3 separate regions of the Homo sapiens genome follow, and all the other regions are linked to region 1. The links are contacts of gene promoters, found by promoter capture Hi-C in human tissues and cell types (Jung and others, 2019). All regions are on one chromosome and are shown on one strand. Each heading gives the region's core, a stretch centred on a gene start or on the middle of the fragment in contact. The rest is flanking DNA. Distances are from core to core; before and after follow the strand shown. Region 1 holds the start of NR2C2AP (nuclear receptor 2C2 associated protein). Region 2 overlaps KLHL26 (kelch like family member 26). Region 3 has its middle 7.6 kb from the start of CRTC1.

The links. Contacts are between HindIII fragments. The study calls those that stand out against the background at their distance.
Region 2: a fragment that was not itself captured here is called in contact with the fragment with the promoter of NR2C2AP in region 1 in 1 of the 25 tissues and cell types used here (dorsolateral prefrontal cortex).
Region 3: a fragment that was not itself captured here is called in contact with the fragment with the promoter of NR2C2AP in region 1 in 1 of the 25 tissues and cell types used here (dorsolateral prefrontal cortex).

The regions. Positions count from the first base shown.
Region 1 is chr19:19,201,454-19,205,649 of GRCh38, forward strand. NR2C2AP (nuclear receptor 2C2 associated protein) reads right to left here and starts at 1,961. Exons shown (of 5, transcript NM_176880.6): 1 at 1,570-1,961; 2 at 1,338-1,428; 3 at 1,017-1,122; 4 at 878-945; 5 at 1-588. The coding sequence starts at 1,607. The coding sequence ends at 472. RFXANK (regulatory factor X associated ankyrin containing protein) reads left to right here. Exons shown (of 10, transcript NM_003721.4): 10 at 196-413. The coding sequence ends at 266. RefSeq lists a silencer at 937-1,203 and an enhancer at 1,867-2,161. The HindIII fragment of the contact is 14,823 bases long and covers 1-4,196 here.
Region 2 is chr19:18,645,003-18,649,198 of GRCh38, forward strand. All of the region lies in intron 1 of KLHL26 (kelch like family member 26), which reads left to right. Among named protein-coding and RNA genes, the nearest start is that of KLHL26, 10 kb to the left of the region's middle. RefSeq lists enhancers at 3,092-3,902, 3,903-4,196. The HindIII fragment of the contact is 9,166 bases long and covers 1-4,196 here.
Region 3 is chr19:18,673,975-18,678,170 of GRCh38, forward strand. No RefSeq gene overlaps it. Among named protein-coding and RNA genes, the nearest start is that of CRTC1, 7.6 kb to the right of the region's middle. The HindIII fragment of the contact is 8,005 bases long and covers 1-4,196 here.

The DNA of each region.
Region 1 (4,196 bases), core at 711-3,210:
AAAAGTGCATTTTTACAAACTTAGGGGAAGTTGAGGTTCCTGGGGTGAGTCCTCGGTTCTCCCAGCTTTGCTCTGTAATGCAGGTCTCTGCAAGGGTCCCTGTTTGTCCCCTAAGGGGAGAGCGCAGGTTGGCCTGTGCCTCCACCCCACTCCCGATTCAAGCTCACAGCCCACCTTTTCCCTGCCCCATCTCAGTGCAACAGGTGATCGAGAACCACATCCTCAAGCTCTTCCAGAGCAACCTGGTGCCCGCTGACCCTGAGTGAAGGCCGCCTGCCGGGGACTCAGACACTCAGGGAACAAAATGGTCAGCCAGAGCTGGGGAAACCCAGAACTGACTTCAAAGGCAGCTTCTGGACAGGTGGTGGGAGGGGACCCTTCCCAAGAGGAACCAATAAACCTTCTGTGCAGAATGAGGGACTTTGCTGTGCTTCCCGGAGGGCTTCCTGGAGGAGACAGCCCCTAGAGGTCTCACACCTTCTCCCCAAGCACCCGCAGGTGGTAGATGACCACACGGCCAAAAAAGTCAGTGGCATCCTCAAACGTCACCTTCAGCCGGTCCACTTCAGCAGCTGGTATGGGGAAAGTGTGAGCGTGGGCAGTCAAGGGAAACTGGTGATTTCTGGTTTCCCACCCGCAGGCCCCCACCCCTTCCAGACCCAGCTCACACTCCACCGATGTGGGCAACCTGGGGAAGCTGCAGGTCCCTCTAAGCCTCTCACACAGAACAGGTGGTCATCAGCACCATTTTACAGAAAAAGTGGAGTCCTAGAGGTCACGTGTTCAAGATCACACATCAGGGTTCCCATTCGGGTTTGGGTGAGTCCAAAGCTTCCAGAGGCACAGACCACCCACCCCAGAAGCAGGGGCAGGATATCTGAAGCGAGTTGTTGTCCTCAGGGTAGAAATCTACAATCTTGTGGAGAGCCTGAGTGCCCTGTGAACCTTCAGCAGAGAAAGGCAATGAGTGTCTGGGGTGACCCCTGGAACCCCTGCCACCCAGGGCCTTCTAGTACCTTCCAGGCAGCCCCGGCGACTGGAGAAGCCACCCTGAAACTGGATCTGCAGCTGGGAGACACGGATGAGCTGGGGAAACTCCAGCGTCACCCACTGGGAGGGGCCCTGGAAGCAGACAGGGAAACTGAGGCGCAAGCTCACTGCAGGCACAGAGCCCTGCTATGCCTGTCTCATTCACATAGTTCTTGGAATGGAGGGGAAGAAGGAAATTCGGCACATGTTCCTTTCCTGGCCACCCATGAGGGCCCCCTGACGTTCTCAAGGCATGAGATCTGAATCTGAATCACCCTAGAGATGGAGGGTCGAGGGAGGCGCCTCACCTGGTCTGAGTTCCAACATGTCTCCTCATCCTGGTCGAAAAGATGTTTTTTTCCAAACTGCCGAGTGTTGCGATTCAGCACTGAACTCACCCTGGAGGCACCAGGATCAAGGCGAAGAGAGGGGCTGAGACCAGCTCTCAGCTCCGCGGAGGGCCTGACCCCCAGATCTGTCCACTGAGGGCTCGACCCCAGGCTTAGGGCCTCGCCACTGCCTGTCCCCACAGACTCTTACCTGCTCACTGTCTCTGGACAAACCAAAGAGTGGGTCATGTCGGTTCCACAAGACCTCGCAGGGCTTAGGATTGGGCACAGCCTTGGTTCGAATCCCGGCGCCTCCTCAAGCTACAGGGCGGCGCGATCTTGGCTACGCCTTGGCCTGAACGTCCTCACCTGTAACTTGGGACGAGAACCGCCACTCCCTCGCCCACCCCAGTCCTAAATGTCGCCTCGATCAATCCCCTGCCGGAAAATTTGGGAGAGAGGATCAGGGAAACCGCCAATGCCCGGAGGCCAGGCCTTTCACAGGAAACAGATTTCCCGCGGGTTTCGGGGGCGGTGGCTTTTTGTGCGAGGCTGTTTCTCTGCGAATAGCTCTTGGAGCCAAATCTTGGGACCCGGAACCGCGTGGGCTTGGCGCATGCGTGTTGTAATTCAGGCGCCGACCGCGGACGCTCCAGAGGTGGGGTTTGGTTCGACCCCGCCCCTTCATGCTCGCTTCTTAAAGGGCCCGGGTTCGATGATTGAATTTACCTTGGTTCCCTTGAAGCTGTAGGGAAAAGGCTGGCTGCGCGCACGGGGCGCTGTCCCTCGGCGCCCGAAGGTGTAGAGCACTGATTTTGACTGATTTTGGAATCCGAAAGACTTCCTTTTTTTTTTTTTTTTTTTGAGGCGGAGTCTCACTGTCGCCCAGGCTGGAGTGCAGTGGCACGATCTCCGCTCACTGCAAGCTCCGCCCCCTGGGTTCACGCCGTTCTCCTGCCTCAGCCTCCCAAGTAGCTGGGAATACAGGCGCCCGCCACCACGCCCGGCTAATTTTTCGTATATTTAGTAGAGACGGGGTTTCACCGTGTTAGCCAGAATGGTCTTGATCTCCTGACCTCGTGATCCAGCCGCCGGGGCTTCCAAAGTGCTGGGATTACAGGCTTGAGCCACCGCGCCCGGCCTTTTTTTTTTTTTTTTTTTGAAGTGGGGTCTCACTGTCACCCAGGCTGGAGTACAATGGTGGGATCGCGGCTCTCTGCGACCTCTGCCTCCCAGGCTCCAGCAATCCTCCTACCCAGCTTCCCGAATAGTTGGAACTAGTAGGCGCGCGCCACCACGGCAGGCTATTTTGTTTGTTTGTTTGTTTGTTTGTTTTTTGGTAGAGATGAGGTTTCGCCATGTTGCCCAGATTGGTCTCGAACTCCTGGGCTCAAGTGATCCGCCCACCTCAGCCTCCCAAAGTGCTGGGATTACAGGCGTAAGCCACCGCGCCCGGCCAGAGAGACTTCCTATGACAATGTCTTTCTTCCTACTCTAACCTACTCTACCCTAACGGCTACCCTAACCTACTCTAACCTACTCTACCCTAACCACTAAATGCAGCCTGGGAATCCCCGAACTTCACTGCCTCCCGGAGGCCAAAGGCAGAGTTGTGGAAAAGGCCACGATGTTGGGAGTATCTGAAGTCCTCATCAACCCTTTTTGTTCTTGTTGGGACAGAGGAGCCCTGGCCTCCAAGTTTGTCTTTCCCAGAAAATGCTGCTGGGACGTCAAGGAAGGCTTCTTGGAGGAGGGAGCATGCGAGGTCGGGTGTTTTTTGTTGTTTCTGTTTTGTTTTGTTTCGAGACGGAGCCTCACTTTGTTGCCCAGGCTGGAGTGCAGTGGTGTGATCTCAGCTCACTGCAACCTCCGCCTCCCAGGTTCAAGTGATTCCCCTGCCTCAGCCTCCTGAGTAGCTGTGACTACAGGTGCGCACCACTATGCCTGGCTAATTTTTGTATTTTTAGTAGAGATGGGGTTTCGCTATCTTGGCCAGGCTGGTCTCGAACTCCTAACCTCGTGATCTGCCCGCCTTGGCCTCCCAAAGTGCTGGGATTACAGGTGTGAGCCACCGCACCCAGGCTGTGAGGTGGGTTTTGAAGCATGAACAGGAGTTTGCCAAACAAAGCCTCAGATACCAAGCTGAAGATTTGGTTCACTGATTCACTAGACACCTCCTGCAAGCTCTACTGTCACACTGTCATGTCCAGCCTTCTGCTGGATGATGCTGGGGACAGCAAGAGGCCTCAGCTCCAGGCCTGTCCCAGAGGAGCCCCTGATCTGGGCAAGACAGAGGTAGACATAGACACTCCTAGCCCCAAGGGAGAGATGGGGCCGGAGGAGCAGGGGCTCTACCTGGAGGAAGGGCTTCCTGGGAAAGGGGATGTTAGAACTGCACCTTAATAGGGGGTCAGGCGCCAGGAATTCACAAGGGTGAGAAAATCTGGAGTGGGGAGGGTGTCCCAGGCAGGGAGCTTAGCATAAGCCAAGGCCTAGTTGGGTGAAAGACCATGAATTTGAATAAAATATGTGGAGCCACATCCTGCTGGGCCCGGAGCAGTCATGGAAGGTGTTGGAGAAAGGGCAGGACACCATCCGTTCTGCATGAATGGAGGGTTCCAAGACAGAGCAGCCACTGGCAAGAGGCTGTTGTTCCTGGCTTTAGCTGAATGGTCTGGCAGCCAGCCCCTTTCTTCAAGGGCTGGAGGAATGGTCCTTCCGGCATCCTACTAGTGTCTGCTCAAACCCACCCCAGGCAGCAGGGGTGGGGGCTGGCGGGGAAACTGGGTCACCAGCAGAAGGCCTGTCTCTTCAGCCCCTGCCTGCCAGGGCTTTCCG
Region 2 (4,196 bases), core at 1,082-3,581, 560 kb before region 1:
GAAAAGCTTATTCTCCTTCCTTCCTATCTCGAGGGATCAACAAAAAACCCGTTGCCTAGTAGAGGTGGTCATTAATGACTGAGCCGAACCTCAGGGATGGACAGAGTGGGGCTGCCCTGGCTGGGGTGTGCGGAGAGGAGGTGGGGTCCTTGCTGCAAGCACAAAGGACACTTGTTCACCAGCTGGCCTCCTCCCAGCTCGGGCCGCGGGGTCTAGACTCCTTGGAGGGAAAGGAGGCTTGGGCCACTTGGGGTGTCGCAAGGGGAGGCAAACCCTCTGGGGAGTCGCACCTCCCCAGCTAAAATTCTGTCACTGTGAGGTACCTGACCGGCAGAGTTTTGGAGGAACCTTCTGGCCTTGCAGCCTCTCCGACATGGGCCTTTGGCATCCACGCTTTTTGGCCCACGCTCCCTGGAGACGCCTGGGTAGGGCCCAGGCTCACTGAGTCATGCTGTTCCTGGGGGTGAGGTGGGGGGATCTGGGTGAGGGATGTGCCAGCTTCAGGCATTTGCATAAGAAGTGGTGGCTAGGCTGGGTGCTTTGGCTCACTCCTGTAATCCCAGCACTTTGGGAGCCCAAGGCAGGCAGATTACAAGGTCCAGAGTTTGAGACCAGCCTGGCCAACATAGTGAAACCCCCTCTCTACTAAAAATACAAAAATTAGTCAGGTGTGGTGGTGGGCGTCTTTAATCCCAGCAACTCTGGAGGTTGAGGCAGGAGAATCGCTTGAACCTGGGAGGAGGAGGTTGCAATGAGCCGAGATCCTGCCACTGCACTCCAGCCTGAGCGACAGAGTGAGACTCTGTATCAAAAAAAAAAAAAAAAGAAGTGATGGCTGGGACGTTGTGCCCAGGGGCTTTGCTGCCTGCTGAAAGTGTTTGCATGGAAAGTTGTGGCCGAGACGCTGCGCCCGGTGGGTTTGTCACAGTCAGTCTGGCTGGGTGGCCTTTGCCTGTTGAAGCTTTCTCCACAATCTAGATCATCTCCACCAAGCCCAGAGGCCTTGGAAGGGTCCAGCCCCCCAGCTCCTGCTAGGAAGACTTAGGGGAAGAGGTGGCTTCCCAAGGAGGTTCTTGCTACTTTGGGGAAGTTCTCATTCCTTTGGCCTCTTGCCCCTTTCTTTTTTATTATTATTAATTTTTTTTGACGTCACTCTGAGCTCAGGCTGGAGTGCAGTGGCATGATTTTGGCTCACTGCAACCTCCGCCTTCTGGGTTCAAGTGATTCTCCTGCCTCAGCCTCCCAAGTAGCTGGGACTACAGGCGCCCACTACCATGCCTGGCTAGTTTTTGTATTTTTAGGAGAGATGGGGTTTCATCATGTTGGCCAGGCTGGTCTCGAACTCCTGACCTCAGGTGATCCACCTGCCTTGGCCTCCCAAAGTGCTGGGATTACAGGCATGAGCCAGTGCGCCCGGCCTCATGCCCCTTTCAGAAGGAGGATTTTGACCCTTCCAAGACGTGGACTCAAGTCCTTCTCCTGGAAAATGTGGTCAGATATGGCGGCATGAGGTGTCTCATCATACCCATGGGTGACTGTGGCTCCCTCTTTATGGGTTGTGGCTGTGACAGATTCCTCATCTGGGAAATGGGGCTCCAGGCCCACCAGGTGGGGGGTGTCTGGGAGGAAACGAGTGGGGAGAGGTCACATGTACCTCATCAGTGTTACTGTGGCAGTGCTGACGCCCATGATGGGGACACTGCCATCCTTCTGCCCGCCATGCCCGCATGGGCCTTGAGGGGATCGTCAATGCCAGCAAGCCTTGATGTGGCGTGCGTGTGTCAGGCAGGGAAAGGAGAGGGTGAACTTGAGCCATTGGGAAGACAGTAGTGCCATGACTTGGGCCGTAAGAGGGACAGCAGCAGGGGCAGCGAGAGAGTAGAGCACGTCCAGCGTGAGCTGGAGAGGGCAGGTTCCGCCAGGAGTAGGCCTGGGAGCAGGAGCTCGGCAGGGCGGGGGCAGGGGCGGCGGGGGGTGGCGCGTCTCAGCAGGGATGGGGGCAGGTGGAACTGGGCCAGCCCAAGAAGGGCACTGGCCCACAGGCCGAGCCACATCCAGGCCACTCGATCTGCCCCTCACAGCTGAGCCCCTTCTCTGGGAAGGAGGCCACCCTCTCCTCCCCTCCTTGTCGGCAGGTCCCAAGAGCTCTGGGAGTGGAATTGCTCTGAAAGCACTCACTTCAACCTGAATCGTGCAGTGCGATCGTCACAGCTGGACTGTTTCCACCTGGTAGCTGTGACCCCCGGGACGGCCTCCTTGTCGTTGTCCGTAGTTACCGGGGAAGAAAGGCTTTATTACCCTCCGCCATAATCGCACCATCTCCAGGGAGCCCCTGCGAATGTCATCCCACCTCCCCCACGGCGATTACTTTTTATCTCACCCACCTCTCCTCAGACACTGTAAAAGGGAGGCTTTCTCCTCACTCCAGCCCTTTGGTTTTTTCCTTTTTCTGATATTTGTGTGTGTGTGTGTGTCTTACCCTTTGGTTTTAGGGAATGTTTTAGATTTGGTGTTAAGAGGCCCTGGAGGAGGAAGAGAGGAGGAGGAGGAAGAGTGGAGGAAGAGGAGGAGGAGATGAGAGGGAGGAGGAGGAAGAGGAGGAGGAGAAAAAGAGGAGGAAGAGGAGGAGGAAGAGAGGAGGAGGAGGAAAGAGAGAGGAGGAGAAAAAGAACAGGAGAATGGGGAGGGAGAGAGGAGGATGAGGGGGAAGGACACAGATAGAAATAATTCAGCGACTTGGGGCCTTGGATCCTGGAAGAAGGGGGTGGGATCTACTGAAGGCAAGGGGTGACTGGGCAGCATGTGTCCCGGCATCCCCAGCTCTTTGCTCTGTGGACAGGATTTGTTAGACACATTTCTCTGCCTTTGTGCAGGTGCCACAGTCTCCTGTGTCCACCCCATGCCTGGTGCTGGACATGAAGGGTCCATGGGACAGATGGACCCTGCCCATGGGGCGCATACATGCCAGCAGGAGTTAGAGAACGTCGTGCGGTCATTTCCGGGCTGGCTGGGCCAGGGGGCCAGGGCAGGGTTTGGGTGAGCGGCATATCAGTCAGCCTCCTGTTTTGAAAGGATCCCTCTGTAGGCCGGGTGTGGTGGCTCACACCTGTATTCCCAGCACATTGGGAGGCCAAGGCGGGTAGATCACTTGAGGTCAGGAGTTCGAGACCAGCCTGGGCAACATAGTGAGATCCAGTCTCTACTAAAAATACACAAAACTAGCTGGGCGCAGTGGCGGGTGCTTGTAGTCCCAGCTGCTCTGGAGGCTGAGGCACGAGAGTCGATTGAACCCAGGAGCCGAGATTGCACCACTGCACTCCAGCCTGGGCGACAAAGTGAGACTCTGTCTCAAAAAAGAAAGGATCCCTCTGGCAAGAGACAAGGGACCCTCGGCCAAGGTGGGCCCTGGAGGGATGGAGAGGCACACGCAGGCTTGGGGATGCCTGGAGGTTGAGCTTGTGCTGACTGATAGTGGTGGCCAGTTTCTGCCCTCCCCACCGGGCAGGCTGAAGGTCAGGGTTGTCCTTGGTCCCGCGCGGCTGCACTGCCTGCAACAAGCAGCAGACTTGGAGGCGCCACCTGGCCTAGGGGATTCGCAGCCCTTCCTGTGTTCCAGAAAAGCCCTTCATGCCTCTCCTTGCTCAGGGTTCGTGCCACTTGGAGCTCCCACAGTCCTTGAGGGCTTCAGGTCTTCCCACCAGCAGGTCCCAGTCCTGGGAATGTCCCTCCTCCTGAGAGAAGGCCTCAGTCTGGCTGCAGCTGCCCAGGAGGTCCTCAGGTAGCATCTCTTGTGGGTTCCACCTTCGAGCCACAGCCTGGAGCCAGCTCCTCCTGCTCTCTCCTCCCCATCCCAGCTCAGAGCCACTCCTGGCTCTTCCCCTTCTGGGCATCATCCCCAACTCCAGCCAGCGGGACCCTCCTAAGGCAGGAATCAGACCACCTCACTCCCCTGCCGGCCACCTGCCAGTGGCTCCCTCACTCTCAGAACAAAATCTACTTCTTGATGTGACCCGCTGGGCCCCTGAGCTTCCGCAGCTCTGACGGCTCTGCTGGGCTCTGAAGCACGCTCACTGGAATGTCCTGTCCCAGTGATTTGCACGGCTCAAGTGTTGTCTCCTCGGGGCCTGGCCACTGTGTCCACCGTGGCGCCACTGCTCGCCCTGTCGTCATGGTACATTCTCTGCTTGAGGACCCAT
Region 3 (4,196 bases), core at 911-3,410, 530 kb before region 1:
TGAGCCAAAATTGCACCACTGCACTCTAGCCCGGGCAACATAGCAAGACTCCATCTCAAAAAAAATTTAAGTAAATAAATTGTCTAGAGTCAGTTTCTGTTGCTTACAAGTAAAAACCCTGACATGAGATGGGAATACTCCAGCATCTGTCACATTTACATTATAATTTTGGAACTGCTTGGTGACAAGCATATCTGGCCATTAGTGTTTTCTGCAGTGCAGACATTATTTCTCATAACAAGGAGACTGGAGGTCAGAGGTGCCAGGATGTTATGACTGGTGGCCCATGATTTCTGGGAGGGGGCATGACTATGCCTCTCTCTTTCTTTCTTTCTTTATTTTTTTTTGGTTTAGAGACTGTATTCCCAGCACTTTGGGAGGCTGAGGCAGGCAGATCTCTTGAGCTCAGGAGTTGGAGACCAGCAACACAGCAAAACCCTGTCTCTACAAAAAATAGAAGAATTAGCCTGGCATAGTGGCATGCACCTGTAGTCCCAGCTACACAGGAGGGTGAGGTGAGGATAGGTTGAGCCCTGAAGATCAAGGCTGCAGTGAGCTGTGATTGTGCCACTGCACTCCAGCCTGGGTAACACAGTGAGACCCTGTCTCCAAAAAAAAAAAAAAAAGAAAAAAGAAAAAAGTAAACAAGGGAATCAAAGGCGTGAGGCAACTAGGCCTTCAGCTGAAATTATGCCAGAGGACGATCCTGCCACCACTGCAGAATCCAGACGCCTCCGTTGGCACTGCCATCTGCCCTGGGCACTCAGCCACAGCTGCCCCTAGAAAACAGATGGCCCTGCCCCGATGCTGTTTCTCTGTAGCACTTGTGCCTGCATGGAAACATCCCGGAGGCCCAACCAGTATCCCACGCCATTCCCCAGCTGTCCCAGGAGTGGTGAAAGTGAGTACATTCGTGTGTATTAGTCAGCCACTGCTGTGCAACAAACACCCCCAAGTCTCAATGGCATGCAACAATAAGCGTTTGTTTTTCACATGTCTGTGAGTCAGCAGAGGTGGTGTCTGCTCTAGGCGGGCCTCGGCTGGGCAGCTCTGCTTACAGGTGCAAGGATGCAGAGTAGCCCAGAGTCCCTGCTCCACGGGTTCTTGCCTCCTGCTGGAACAGCAGCTAGCCAGGGCACATTTTCCTCCTGCAAGTGTCTGAGGACAAGTGGAATCACGTGAGGCCTCGTAGGGTCTCAGTTCGGGACTCAAACACTATCACATCTGCCCGTAAGTCTTTTTTTTTTTTATTTTGAGATGGAGTCTTGCTCTGTTGCCCAGGCTGGAGTGCAGTGGCACAATCATGGTTCACTGCAGCCTCGACCTCCTGGGCTCAAGTGATACTCCCACCTTAGCCTCCTGACTAGCTAGAACTATACGCTCATGCCACCAAGAGCAGCTTATTCATTTATTTATTTATTTGAGACTGAATCTCGCTCTGTCACCCAGGCTGGAGTGCAGTGGTGCAATCTCGGCTCACAGCAACCTCCACCTCCCAAGATCAAGCGATTCTCTTGCCTCAGCCTCTCGAGTAGCTGGGATTACAGGTATGTGCCACCACACCTGGCTAAGTTTTGTATTTTTAATAGAGACGGGGTTTCGCTTTGTTGGCCAGGCTGGTCTCGAACTCCTGGCCTCAAGTCAACCACCTGCCCTGGCCTCCCAAAGTGCTGGGATTACAGGCATGAGCCACTATGCCTGACCTGCCCATAAGTCTTTGGCCAAGCAAATGACATGGCTGAGCCCCACATCTGGAATGGGGAAGTGTCTTCCACCTGGAAGGAAGAACTGTAGAGGGCAGGGATGCAGGAATAGGTGGGAACCGCGGCCAATAGTTCGATGGGTCACCCTTGGCTTGGGGGCCTCTCTTGTTAGCAGGGTGACCAACTTCCCTCTGTGGGGGGACTCCCCAAACTTGGATGGGGACCCTGATGCTGGCAACCAAAAAGAAAGGCCCGTTCTGCATCTCCTTAGCAGCCACTGCCCCCTGGAGGTCGAGATATCCCTCTTTTTTGTTTGTTTGTTTCAGGTGAGTGGGGGCTGTGAGTGCCCCAGGATCTTGGAAAGCAGGATGGGGGTCTGGATGTAGGGAGGTCAATGGGGCCTTGGCCAAGTTTCAGGGCATGGACACTGTAGGTGTCCCTGGGAGCATGCCCAAGTCTCTCTATGTTGCCCAGGCTGGTTTCAAACTCCTGAGCTCAAGCAGTCCTCCTGCCTCTGCCTCCCAAAGTGCTGAGAATATAGGCACAAGCCAATGCATCCAGCCAACCAACCAGTTTTCCAACACGCACTTCAGCTATCTATCCCTCAGCACAAGTGGCTGGGTCCCTAGACTTGAACCATGGGTCCCCCGCCTGCCCAGTTCCAGCCTCTCACTACCCTCCTTGGCGGCCCACCCCGTCCCACCCTCCATCCACCACTAAAGCCTGGGTGGGAGGACGAGGGGCCTGGGTCCTCCTGTAACCTTATCGTAAGGAGGGGCATCGCTGGCTTCTCTTGGGTCCTTTCCCTCTCTCTTCATGATCAGACCCAGCTTTTGCTTTGCCCTTTAAAAACTCTGTACGATGAGAGCCTCTTTTGGAAGTCAAAGACAGACCAGGGATTGTTTTCCTCTTTGCCTCTCAGCTCCAATGGCCCTAATTCACCTCCACACGACGTGGGTACCCCAAATCGACTAAGATCCCATATAAGGAAGAGCTGAGAAGCAAAGCATGAAAACTAACATGGCGAAGTAGCGTTTTGCTTTCCTAACAGTTGCTGAGTGCTTGGATGAAGCAGGCACTGAGCTAAGTGCTTTCCATGTGTTATCTGTTTCATCTTTCCAAGAGCCTGCTATGAGGAGCACCACTGTCCACATTTAGCAGAGGAGGGCAGTGCGGCTCAGAGAGGTGAAGACAGTTTTCCATTGTCACACAGCTTGACAACTGATAAGTGTTGGACCACACAGAAATGCTCAAGAGTTTCTTGATCTCCCGGGTCAAGCAATTCTCCTTCCTCAGCCTCCCAGGTAGCTGGGTTTACAGGCGTGCACCACCACGCCTAGTTAATGTTTTTTTTGCATTTTTAGTAGAGACGGTGTTTCACCATGTTGGCCAGGCTGGTCTCAAACTCCTGACCTCAGGTGATCCGCCCACCTCAGTCCCCCAAAGTGCTGACATTACAGGTGTGGAGGTGGAGGTTGCAGTGAGCCGAGTTCGCGCCACTGCACTCCAGCCTGGGTGACAGAGCAAGACTCTGTCTTAAAAACGCACAAACGAATGAACAAAAACACATAAGAAATCACGTGTGTCTGTGCCCTTTCCACATTCCACAGGCACACAGGGAACTCTGGCCTGGCCCTGGCCTCTTTGGGAAAGGCGAACATAATCTCAGCTCAATCTACAAGGGATCAGATGAGACCGCACAAACAGCTGCCTTCAGAGAATGGGATGTTTCTGGGTCATGGGAAGAGACGCTGGAGGTCCACTTCAGCTAGACCCTTCAGGAGGGTCTCTCAGAGCAGAGGCCTGCAAGTCGAGAAGGAGCCAGCCACGAAAGCATCTTGGAGGAGCGCAATCCAGGCAGAGGGAACAGCGAAGAGGCCCGTGTGGCTGGAGCGAGAGCCGAGCCGAGCATAAGCATGTGGAGCCGCCAGGAGGAGGGTATTTTTTTTTTATTTGAGATGGAGTCTCACTCTGTCTCCCAGGCTGGAGTGCAATGGTGCGATCTCGGCTCACTGCAACCTCCACCTCCCGGGTTCAAGCGATTCTCCTGCCTCAGCCTCCCGAGTAGCTGGGATTACAGGCACCCACCATCATGCCTAGCTAATTTTCATTTTTTTTTTTTTTTAAGAGACGGGGTTTCACCATGTTGGCCAGGCTGGTCTTGAACTCCTGACCTCAGGTGACCCACCTGCCTCTGCCTCCCAAAGTGCTGGGATTACAGGCATGAGCCACTGCGCCAAGCCTTTAGATTTTTTTTTTTTTTAAGTGCGATGGGAGTGTGGGATCTGCCCTGCTTTGCAAAGCCCGCAGGGCTGCTGTGAGGAGCAGTGTTGGACCACACTGGGTGACAGCAAGTTCCTTTGATGAAGGAAGAAAGTGAAAACCTCAGGGTTGGTTTCTGCCCGGGTCACTGGACACTGAAGCCTCGCCCTTCTCAGGGCTGGGGGTCAGTGGAGCAAGAAGCGGGGCTTGGGCTGCTGTCTGGCCATTGCA